3 separate regions of the Homo sapiens genome follow, and all the other regions are linked to region 3. The links are contacts of gene promoters, found by promoter capture Hi-C in human tissues and cell types (Jung and others, 2019). All regions are on one chromosome and are shown on one strand. The core of a region is centred on a gene start or on the middle of the fragment in contact, and the rest is flanking DNA. Distances in the headings are between cores, read along the strand shown. Region 1 holds the start of LRRC3 (leucine rich repeat containing 3). Region 2 overlaps TRPM2 (transient receptor potential cation channel subfamily M member 2). Region 3 holds the start of SUMO3 (small ubiquitin like modifier 3).

Region 1 (3,308 bases), core at 715-3,214, 360 kb after region 3:
ACCACCTACTACAAAAGTGACAGCAGCCACCGGCGGGGGTCTGCCGGAACAGGCGCTAGGGCCCCGGGCCGATGGGGTCCTTGGAGGCGGGGGCGCTGGGCAGAGACTTCAGGTACTCCAGGTGCCTCCGGGCATCCTCCTGGTTGTGGCGCACATAGTACACGACGTAGGCGATCACCATGGCGAACCAGCCGAACATGGTGACCAGCATGGCCACGTCTGTGGTCCTGTGGGGGACGCTGCAGAGGCTGGCACCCGCATCCAGAGCCTGAACCAGAGGCTTCCCCACAAACTCCTCCTGCACTGAGGTGTGGCAGGCGATCTCGTCCACAGAGTCGGGGTCCAGCTTCAGCTCCCACAGGGCCTCCTGCAGGGCGCACTCGCAGTGCAGGGGGTTGTGGGACAGGCGTATCTTGGCGCTGAGTTTGCCCAGGGCGTCCTTGGGGATCCTCTGGATGCGGTTGTAAGACAGGTCCAGCAGCCGCAGGCCCCCGGCCAGGCCCGCGAAGGTGGCGGAGCCGATGGCCTCGATGGCGTTGTGAGACAGATCCAGCTCCCTGAGCCGGTGCAGGTGCTGGAAGGCCCCGTCCGGGAGGTGGGAGATCTTGTTGGCATCGAGCTTCAGGAGCACGGTGTTGGCCGGGATGTCCTCGGGGACCTCCTGAAGGCCCCGCAAGCTGCAGAAGACAGCCACAGCCCCTGCGTGGTCAGGGCACCGGCAGGGCTGTGGGCAGGCGGCGCCCAGGTGCAGGCAGAAGAGGAGGAAGAGACAAGACTCCCGGGTGGAGACCAGCAGGAGCGAGGGGCGAGGTGGGCGCACGGTGCCCATCCTGACCTGACCTGGGGACGGGGACACGCGAGCCTCTGCTAGGGCCTGGGGATGGAGCTGGTTTCCGCAGGCAAGGCCTTATCCAACCAGACATGAAACCGCCATCCTGCCCCGCTGGGAGAAGCAGTGCAGTCCACTCTGGCAGCTCTGAAAGGGAAGACGCAGGAGGGAGCGGAGAGGGAGGGAGGGTGGTCAGCACTGCCGGCTGCGGTCACCTGGGAAACGCGTCCACTGGTGGGGAGGGTGTTGAGGGCCCACTGAAGGGTCTGGGGTGGGGAGCACGCCTCCTTAAACAGCTCTGCCTGTAACTTACTTCTGGAGACTCCCAATGCGCCCGGGAGGAGCGTCCCACAAGTGCAGGGAGCTGGCACTGCCAGGGGGCTCCGCATGGCCCAGTGGGTGGTCACTGCGGCCACCCCTGGCCACCTACAGCACCGCTGGGGACCAAAGGCCGGGCGGCGGAGTGGCGGCGGCTTGGACCACCCAGCCCCTCCCTCCTCAGGGTGGACGCCAGGAGGACGGTGACGGCTGCAGCTTCTCCCGAACCTGGAGCGCGGGTCAAGCTGGGCACGTGGCCGGGCACCAGCGGGCGCTCGCGCGCCAGGGGCTACTCCAGCAGCCAACGCCTGGCTGACTCCGACAACCCCTAAAAACTGTCATAACCCAGCAAGCCCTTCCCTGCCAGCCCTAAAGGAGCCGCGGCTCGCACCGGGCACAGAACCGCGCCTTTTCTTTCAACTGCCTGAAGAAGGAAACCGAGAAAACAGAGAAGCCAAGCCCTGTGCGCGCGGCCCGCGCTGGGCGTGGACGGCGGGGCCGCGCGCGGAGCCGGCCGGGAGAGGCTCGGACCCCCAGGACCTCCAGCCTTTAGACCCTCCGGCCCTAGGACCCCCGGAACCTGGGACCCCCGAGACCCCAGCACTCGCGGCGGGGGGATGGTCATGGGGTGGGTGGGAATCCACGCTCCCAGGGCTGGGCGGGGGCTTTACCTGCGCGGCGGCGGCCGGAGGCTGCTCTGCGCGCCGCTCCCGGGCCTCTCGGAGCCCGCCAGACCCAGCTCCACGCCTGGCGCGGCGGCCACCCCGCTGCCCCTGCGACCGCGCCCGCGACCACTAGCTGGGGAGGCCGCGACTCCGGCCTGCGCGGGCGAGGGGCGGGGTGGGGCGGGGCCTGGAGGGGGCGGGGCGAAAGGCGGAGACAGGCTGTGTCGATTCCCCGCGGGGGCGGGGAAGGGGCGGGGCATGTAAGGAGACCGGAACGGGATTTGTGGTTAGGCGGGGGCGGGGCTTGAGGGCGGGTTCTGCGGCAGGGCGGGGCCTGGAAGAGATGGGGGAGGGGCATGGGAGGGGCATGGGAGGGGCCGGTGGTGCGGCTTTAGATGGAGCTGGTACTAAGACCCAGGTCGCAGGGGCTGTGGGCGGGTTGTGGGAGTAATTGTGGCATGCTGGGGGCGTGGTTGTGGGGCTGAGGACGAGGTGGTGGGGGCTGAGGGCGTGGTTATGGGTGGGGGCGGGGTCTGCGCGCCGGGAGGGGCTGTGGGTCCAGCCCCTGCCCCTCACTCTGGGCAAATCCCCTCTTCCCTCTGGCATCAGGACTTCTGGGGCTTGAAGACCCTGGGTCTGCGGGAAGCCCCTGCTGAGCGTCCCTCGCCTACCCCGTGGCCAGTGGGTGAGTAGGGCTAGATCTCCGCCCATCTAGGTCCCCTTCTGCTCCAGCTCCAGCGTCTGACATCCCAAGGAAGGAACGCAGGGTGGGGGCATTTGAGCCGGACCTGAGCCATCCTCATGGTTTTCAAAAAGTAGCCTTATTGTGGTGTAATTGACAGACGGTAAGCCACATATTTCAATTTGGTACGTTTTAACACTCGGATACTCCTGTGAAACCATCACCACAATCAGCATAGTGAACACCCCGGGTTCCCTCTTGGTCATCTCTCCCTGCCCTCCCTCATCCCCAGGCAAGCACTGATCTGCATTCTGTCACTACTGATTACTTTGCATTTCCTATGATTTGCACAAATGGAATCATATAATATGTACTTTTTGTGTAGCTTCTTTCACTCAGCACAATTATTTTTGAGATTTGCCTGCGTCATTTGGTTTGTCAATGCGTATTTCTTTTACAGCTGCATGGTACTCCAGTGTATGAATGTACCACAGTTTGTGTCCATTCACCTGCTGGTGGGCATTTGGGTTGTTTCTGGTGTTGGCTCTTACAGATAAAGCTGATCCGAACATTGTGCACAAGTCTTTGGATGAATGCTTTTCTTTCTCTTGAATAGATGTCTAGGAGTGGAGTGGCTGGATGCCACGGTAGCCATATGTGAAACTTTTTAAGAAACTGCCAAAGCGATTGTATGGTTTTACATTCCACATCCTCCCCAGCACTTGGTATGGTTTGTCTTTTTAATTTCAAATACTCTAATAGGTGTGTGGTGATAGATGGAACTGTGGTTTTAATTTGCGTTTCCCTGTTGGCC
Region 2 (3,258 bases), core at 225-2,724, 430 kb after region 3:
CACATTGTGGGTTCCTAAGTGGATAGGTGTGTTCTCTTTATAAAAAGAGGGGTGAGGCCAGGTGCGGAGGCTCACACTTGCAATGCCAGCAATTTGGGAGGCCAAGACAGGAGGATCACTTGAGCCCCGGAGTTTGAGACCAGCCTGGGCCATATAATGAGACCCCATCTCAACAAAATATTATAAAAAAAAAAAAAAAGCTGGGTGTGGTGGCACATGCCTATAGTCCCAGCTACTCAAGAGACGGAGGCAGGAGGATTGCTTGAGCCTGGGAGGTGGAAGGTACGGTGAGCCATGATTGCACCACTGCACTCCAGCCTGGGTCACAGAGCCAGACCCTGTCTCAAACATAAAAATAGACAAGGCACGGTGGCTGGAGGGTGTAAATTCCAGCCTTTTGGAGGGTGAGGAGAGCGGATCACTTGAGGCCAGGAGGTTGAGACCAACCTGTCCAAAATAGCAAAACCATCTCTACAAAAAAATAAAAAATTAGCCAGGTGTGGTGGCGCATACCTGTAGTCCCAGCTACTTGGGAGGCTGAGGTGGGAGGATTGCTTGAGCCTGGGAGGTTGAGGCTGCAGTGAGCTAAGATCACGCCACTGCACTCCAGCCTGGACGACAGAGTGAGACCCTGTCTCAAAAAAATAAAAAATAAATAAAAGAAAAAGAAGAGGAAGTGGCACCAGAGACTTCTCTCTCTGTCACGTGAAGACACAGCAAGAGGGCAGCCACGTGCAAGCAAGAAGAGGCCCTGGCCAGAAGCCAGCCCTGCTGGTGCCTTAATCTGGGACTTCGGGCTTCCAGAACTTCGAGAAAATAAACTGGTAGTTTCTGCCCCATCTGTGGAATTTTGTTACAGCAGCCCAAGCAGCCTAAGATAGAGCATGTGTCTTTTCTAATAAAAATAAAAGCTAATTTTAAAAACAGAGAGCTCTAAGAACATAGCAGTAGCCCGCGAAGACGAGTCCAGGATGGGCCCCGTTACCAGCACGCACGTTGAGCTTGACGTGGGGAACGGGCAGCAGGAGCCGCAGCCGGTCGTTGTGCCGGGGCCGGGGATAAAGCGGCTGCGTGAAGTCCCCCAGCAGCTCCCGCAGCACCTGGGCCACGTGGTGCATCTGCAGGCGGGGCGCCGCGGGCGCGCAAGCCGGGCGCTCGGGATCCTCCACCAGCACCTTCTGCAGCTTGCTGTGGAACAGGCAGGAGGGGTCCAGGTTCTCGTACAGGTAGAGCAAGGTGTCCCAGGTGACAAACTCCTTCAGCTGCACCCCGTTCTCCAGGAAGAGCTTCACAAACTCAGGCTTGTTGGAGATGAGTGCAGCTGTCATCGTGGGGTGCAGATCTGAAGGCTGAGAGCAAGCATTGTGCAGTGACGGTTGCATTTGGTCATCACCCCATGTCATCCTGATCTCAAAGACCCTGGAGATGGGGGCTGCTGTTGTCCCCAACCTGGGGAGGATGAAAGCTGCCCAGGTCACCCACCCTCAAGGGAAGGGCTGGGATCCAGACAATGCGAACTTTGCCTGCCCTTGCTTCAGTGGTGCAATGCATGTGGGCCCAGTAGGCCCCTCCACGGGGTGCTCTGGAAGACTTACCTTCCACTGCCACTCATCCATGAAGATCTCACTGCGGGCAATGTCCACGCGATTCCATGCCACTGCCAGTTTCAGCTGGTGGTCCCAGTTCTCGTGGCCAAAGTGGTCTTGGCTCCGTGAGGCTGCAGATGAACAGGTGCATATTGGGCCTCGATCTGGAGCTCAAAGCCATTTCCCTCCAGGGAAATGATGTCAGAGTCAGGGATGTGTCATGAGCCCTTGCCTCTCAACAATTCAAAGTGACAGGCGCAGCACCCAGTGACCTCCTCCCATACACACAGCCTTGCAAAAGCATGTTCCATTTCGGAGTCAGAATCAGTGAATCTTGGGGCTTTGGTCATCACGTCCACTCACTCCTGTTTCCCCTGCCCTCCTCCTGGCCATGCCCTGGCCCCTAAGCGACAGGTGGGCAGTAAGCAAGAAAAGGGCCTCACTGTTTTAAGAAGACATAGGTCTCTGGAGGGCAGGCATCTTACACTAACATCCAAAACTCAGGACTCAGAAGCCATCACATTTCCTTTCCTGCCTCAACTGCCTGTAAATGTTCAACAGTAACAACCACCTCACTGGTTCTCAGGACAAGTTATTTTGCTCAAGTAGTTTCTGTGTTCCCTTTCTGGTTTAACTTTTTAAAACATGGGTTGTTATTTGGGGAAAAAGAAAAAAGAACTTTGACCCTTACCTCACACCATACACAAGAATCAACATGGAGCGGTTCTTAGGCCCAAACATAAAGGCTATGTCTACAAAACTGCCGTCAGAAAACAGAAGAAAATATCTGCAACCTTGGGATGGGCAGAGATCTCTTAGCTATGACACAAAGAACATGAACCATAAAGAAAAATTGATTAAATTGGCTGGGCGAGGTGGCTCACACCTGTAATCCCGCATTTTGGGAGGCCAAGGCGGGTGGATCATGAGGTCAGGAGATCGAGACCATCCTGGCTAACACGGCGAAACCCTGTCTTTACTAAAAATACAAAAAATTAGCCAGGCGTGGTGGTGGACACCTGTAGTCCCAGCTACTTGGGAGGCTGAAGCTGGAGAATGGTGTGAACCCAGGAGGCGGAACTTGCAATGATCCGAGATCGCGCCACTGCACTCCAGCCTGGGCAACAGAGCGAGACTCCATCTCAAAAAAAAAAAAAAAAATTTTAAGCCTCCTGCTCTTCAAAGACATCTTGAAGAAAATATGAAAGGAAACTACACACCATGAGAAAATAATATCTGACGAACGATTTGTATCCGAATATATAAATAACTCTTACAAATCGAAAACTGGAAGACAAACAATCAAATAAAAATGGACAAGAGATCTGAAAGACATTTCAGAAGGAAGACAGGCAAATGGCCAAAAAGTCCTTAAAATGATGCTCCACATCAGTAGTCCTCAGGAAAATGTAAATTCAAACCACAATGAGATGTCACTTCACATCCACTAGGATGGCTACAGTTTAAAAGACTGACAACACCAAGTGTGGACAAGGATGTAGGGTAACGCTCATCCACTGCCAGCACACAGGAAAAAGAATGCAATATTTTCAGAAAAGTTTGTCAGTTTTTTACAAAGTAAAACATACACTTACCATAAAGGCCAGTAATTCCACTCCTAGATATTGACCCAGGAGAAATGAAGACAAATAGCAGCTTTATTCATAATAGC
Region 3 (3,605 bases), core at 184-2,683:
ACTCTCTGAACCCTGCCTGCCCTAGGGCACTTCCAGGGCCAGCAATCTGTGGGCTCTGAGGCGCCACGTCCCCTCGGAAGGGGCTGGTTGCGGAGCCCCCTCCCAGGACCGTCTGAGCTGGCCACCCACCTCCACATCCTCTGCTGAGGCCCTGGGCTCCAGGTTCCAGAAGGAAGGGACCACACCTTATGACCTGCCTGGGACTGGGGCTGACTCTCAGACCCTCTCCCCGAAAGACTTCAGCAGCCTTCCCCCTCCTAAGTGGGGGCTCTAGCCAAGAAAGTGAATTTTTGAGTAGAAGACGGTTTGTGAAGTTATGGTCCATGAAGACTTGTCTCCATGGCTTTGCGACGTTGCTCAGTTGGCTGAGCCTTTCCCAGGCAGGACAGAAACGGCTCAGACGCTTAGGTTCAAATCCAGGCCCTGCCATTTCCCAGCTGAGCCTGAAGTGCGGCCTCCCCCGCCTTCGGCCGGGCTCACCATCAGATGAGACCTCCGCCACGCCCCGGCTGGCACCACCCGGGCACTCCTGAGGGACGCAGGGGTGTCCGCCCTCAGGTCCGTTCCATCCGAGGCCCTGGGATCACAGACATGGAGGCCGGGGCGGGCCAGGCACCCCAGGAATGGCGCCCGCAAGTCCGGGGAGGCCGTCCTGCCGGCCCAGCGCGTTTCCCGCGTCCACGAGGTCCCCGTTCCGCCGGCACTGGCGGCGTCCAGCCTGGGTTTGCCCGCGCTCGCCGACGTGGCGGCCTGGCCAAGCTCGGCGCCGCTCACCAGCGCTGACCTGGGGGTGGTTTGACCTCCCAGTGCCTCAGTTTCTTCACAGGTAAAACGGGTCTTCTTGAGGACGGGTGTGGAGGGCCCGGGGCAGCCCCGTAGGAGCGTTGGCCAAAGGAGCCCGGCCTGGGGCTGACAGGAAACCGCGGCGGCAGGGAGGCGGGTGGCGCCCCCAATCGTCTAGGGTGCTGGCCCGATTCGCGCGGCCCCCGCGGACGGGACCCCGCGGGCCGCCTTCTCCGCTCTGTCCGCGGCTCCTGAGAGGGAACGTCACCCCCAGCGTCCTCCCTCCTCCGCCCCAGGTCCCTGCGGCCATGGGCGGCGGCCCCGGCCTCACTTCCCGGCGCCCCAGGAACGCGGCCCCCAGGAAAGGAGTCGGGGCCCGGGCGACGCGGGGAGGCGGGCAAGGGTCCCCAGGGCCCGGGCTCCCCGTAAACGCTCCTGGCCCGCGCCCCACAGCGCCCTAGGGCTTCCGCGCCCGACGGGGTCGCGCGGGACCCGCCCCGTGACGCATCTCCAACCGCCCAGAGCCGCGGCCCGGCCTGCGCGCGCCCGACGCCCCGGGGAGCGCGCCTCGTGAACGCGCGCAGCCACGTGACCCCCGTGCCGGCCAACGGGTGCGCCGGGATTTGGGGGATAAAGCGCGGCCCCGCGCACAGTTGCGGCGGGAGAGCGGCGGGGCCGAGAGCGTGACTCGCCCGCTCCGCGCTGCTTCCCCCGCGCCGCCTCCCCGCGCCGCTCGCGCAGCCATGTCCGAGGAGAAGCCCAAGGTAAGCGCGGCGACCCCGCCTGCACGCGCGTCTATCGCGGGCGTCCCGCCCCCAGCCCGGCTCCGCCCCCACCCCGACTCCGCCCCGCGTCCCGCCCCTGACAGGCTCCGCCCCTCCCCGCCCTCTAGAGCCCCGCCCCTAAGTGGGCCCGCCCAAGGTGCGCCCCCTCTGCCCCCGCGAAGCGCGCTGTGCCGCGAGCTCCGCCCCCTCCGGGCCTGGCCACGCCTCCGCTCCACGCCCGTCTCCTCCCCAGCTGGGAAGGCGCGCGCCCAGCGCCTCCTTGAGCGCCCGGTGTCGGGCCCCGCGCTGCTGCTCCTGCAGAGCGCGGCGCCCTCGGATCCCGCCCCAGCAGTGTCCCCGAAGCGTCTTTGCGTGCTCCTCTCCTGAGTCATTGCTGGTTGGGGTCGCCCTCTCCCCCGGCATCGCCCTGGGTGCGGGATCCTGTGTCGAGTGCACGGAGTCGGCTCGGGAACAAGCGTCTGGGGTTACCCCCAAGGGGCGCGCTCTGAGGGGCCTGGCCCCTGTGAGCAGCACTGCCGTCCTTCCAGGGCGCCCATCGCGACCCCGGTATTCACCCACTTCTCCGCATCGTGTCCCGGCCATCGCGTCCCCCAGTGTGCGCCCACCCCTCTCCTTCGTGTCTCCCCAATCGTGCCCTCAGTGTGCACCTACTCCCACCCATCGCGCCCCGTGTGCACCCACCGCCTCCATCGCGTCCCCCGGTGTGCGCCCACCCCTCCCCATCGCGCCCCCCGGTGTACGCCCACGCCTCCCCATCACGCCCCCCATGGTGTGTACCCACTCCTCCCCATCATGCCACCTGGTGTGCGCCCACCCGTCCCCATCATCGCGTCCCTGGTGTGCGCCCACCCCTCCCTATTGCGTCGCCCTCTCCATCACACCCCCAGTGTGTGCTCACCCCTCCCCGTCGCGTCCCCCAGTGTGCGCCCACCCCTATCCATCGCGTCCCCCTTTCCATCACACCCCCAGTGTGCGTCCACCCCTCCCCATCACCCCCTCCACGATGTGCGCCCACCCCTCCCCATCACGCCCCCTATAGTGTGTGCCCACCCCTCCCTATCACGCCCCACGGTGTGCGCCCACTTCTCTGCATTGCGCCTCCCCCACCATGCGCGCCCACCCCTCCTTATCCAGCCTTGGGTGGGCTTTAGTCTCCCCCATTGCCATGCTGGGGTGTGCCTCCCTCCAGTCTCAGTCCTGGGGTATGCACCCTGCATTCAGGTGCACTGGCCATTCCTTCTCGGGAGGGTCTGTAGTCGCATTCTCCAGTGTTCATAAAAAGAGAACCTTTCCGAAGCCCTTGGTGTGCACTGTCGGCCTCTATGTTACATCCCAGTGGAAGATGACTAGAGCTGAAGGCTCTGTAAAGAGGCTGTCTCTGATACTGGCCTGGTCCTGGAGGTGACCACCCTCCCTTTACAGATGAGGGTGGAGGCTCAGTGCCAGACACTGGCGGGAAGTGGGATGGAACCGTCAGGAACCATGGTCGCGGCCTCTATGGAAGTCTGCACTCTGCTTGCTGTGGTCAGACTCCAGGGAAACCTGCCCTATCCAGATGGCATTTGGGGTGACCTTTGCTTTTTACATTTTGACTCCAGTGAAGTCAAAGTTCTCCCACTCTGGGGTTGTTTGAATATTTAAATACTTGTTAAAACTAGGTCAAATATAAATGTCCTTTATGTTTTTGTAGGTGGCTTCCTCTTAATGAAGAGTAAATGTAATAAAATACATATGATATTAATTTTCTCAGCAGTATTTACACTTAGCTCTGCCATGTGGTCAATCTCAGGCTCCAGTTCCGTTGAAAACACTTGTTTAATTCCAGAATGACTGAGTGGCTGCCACCTCACAGGCCCCGCTTCTGGTGGGTCCCCTCTGAGCCCATGTGGGAGCAGCTCTGCCCTCTGGGGCTCTGACGAAGGGGAAGAGGTGGACTCTGGGGCCCGGTGGTGCTGGAAAGAAGAGCTTTTAGGTCAGGCAGGAGAATGGTTCTGACTTCCCTGGATAGCTGAGGTGGAGGATTGACTGTAGCAAACT

What was found. The method cuts DNA at HindIII sites, captures the fragments that hold promoters and counts their contacts. A contact is called where the count stands out against the background at its distance.
Region 1: a contact is called between the fragment with the promoter of LRRC3 here and the fragment with the promoter of SUMO3 in region 3, in 1 of the 25 tissues and cell types used here (spleen).
Region 2: a fragment that was not itself captured here is called in contact with the fragment with the promoter of SUMO3 in region 3 in 1 of the 25 tissues and cell types used here (lymphoblastoid cells).

The regions. Positions count from the first base shown.
Region 1 is chr21:44,454,166-44,457,473 of GRCh38, reverse strand. LRRC3 (leucine rich repeat containing 3) reads right to left here and starts at 1,964. Exons shown (of 2, transcript NM_030891.6): 1 at 1,819-1,964; 2 at 1-976. The coding sequence starts at 829. The coding sequence ends at 56. It overlaps LRRC3-DT (LRRC3 divergent transcript), which reads left to right and starts at 2,190. Exons shown (of 4, transcript NR_047476.1): 1 at 2,190-2,230; 2 at 2,422-2,497. RefSeq lists silencers at 1,606-2,035, 2,124-2,303 and an enhancer at 2,467-2,967. The HindIII fragment of the contact is 13,764 bases long and covers 1-3,308 here.
Region 2 is chr21:44,389,363-44,392,620 of GRCh38, reverse strand. TRPM2 (transient receptor potential cation channel subfamily M member 2) reads right to left here. Exons shown (of 32, transcript NM_003307.4): 10 at 1,596-1,717; 11 at 996-1,349. Among named protein-coding and RNA genes, the nearest start is that of TRPM2-AS, 35 kb to the left of the region's middle. The HindIII fragment of the contact is 4,893 bases long and covers 1-3,258 here.
Region 3 is chr21:44,815,890-44,819,494 of GRCh38, reverse strand. It overlaps SUMO3 (small ubiquitin like modifier 3), which reads left to right and starts at 1,433. Exons shown (of 4, transcript NM_006936.3): 1 at 1,433-1,547. The coding sequence starts at 1,527. RefSeq lists silencers at 822-921, 942-1,521, 1,702-1,901 and an enhancer at 3,581-3,605. The HindIII fragment of the contact is 28,474 bases long and covers 1-3,605 here.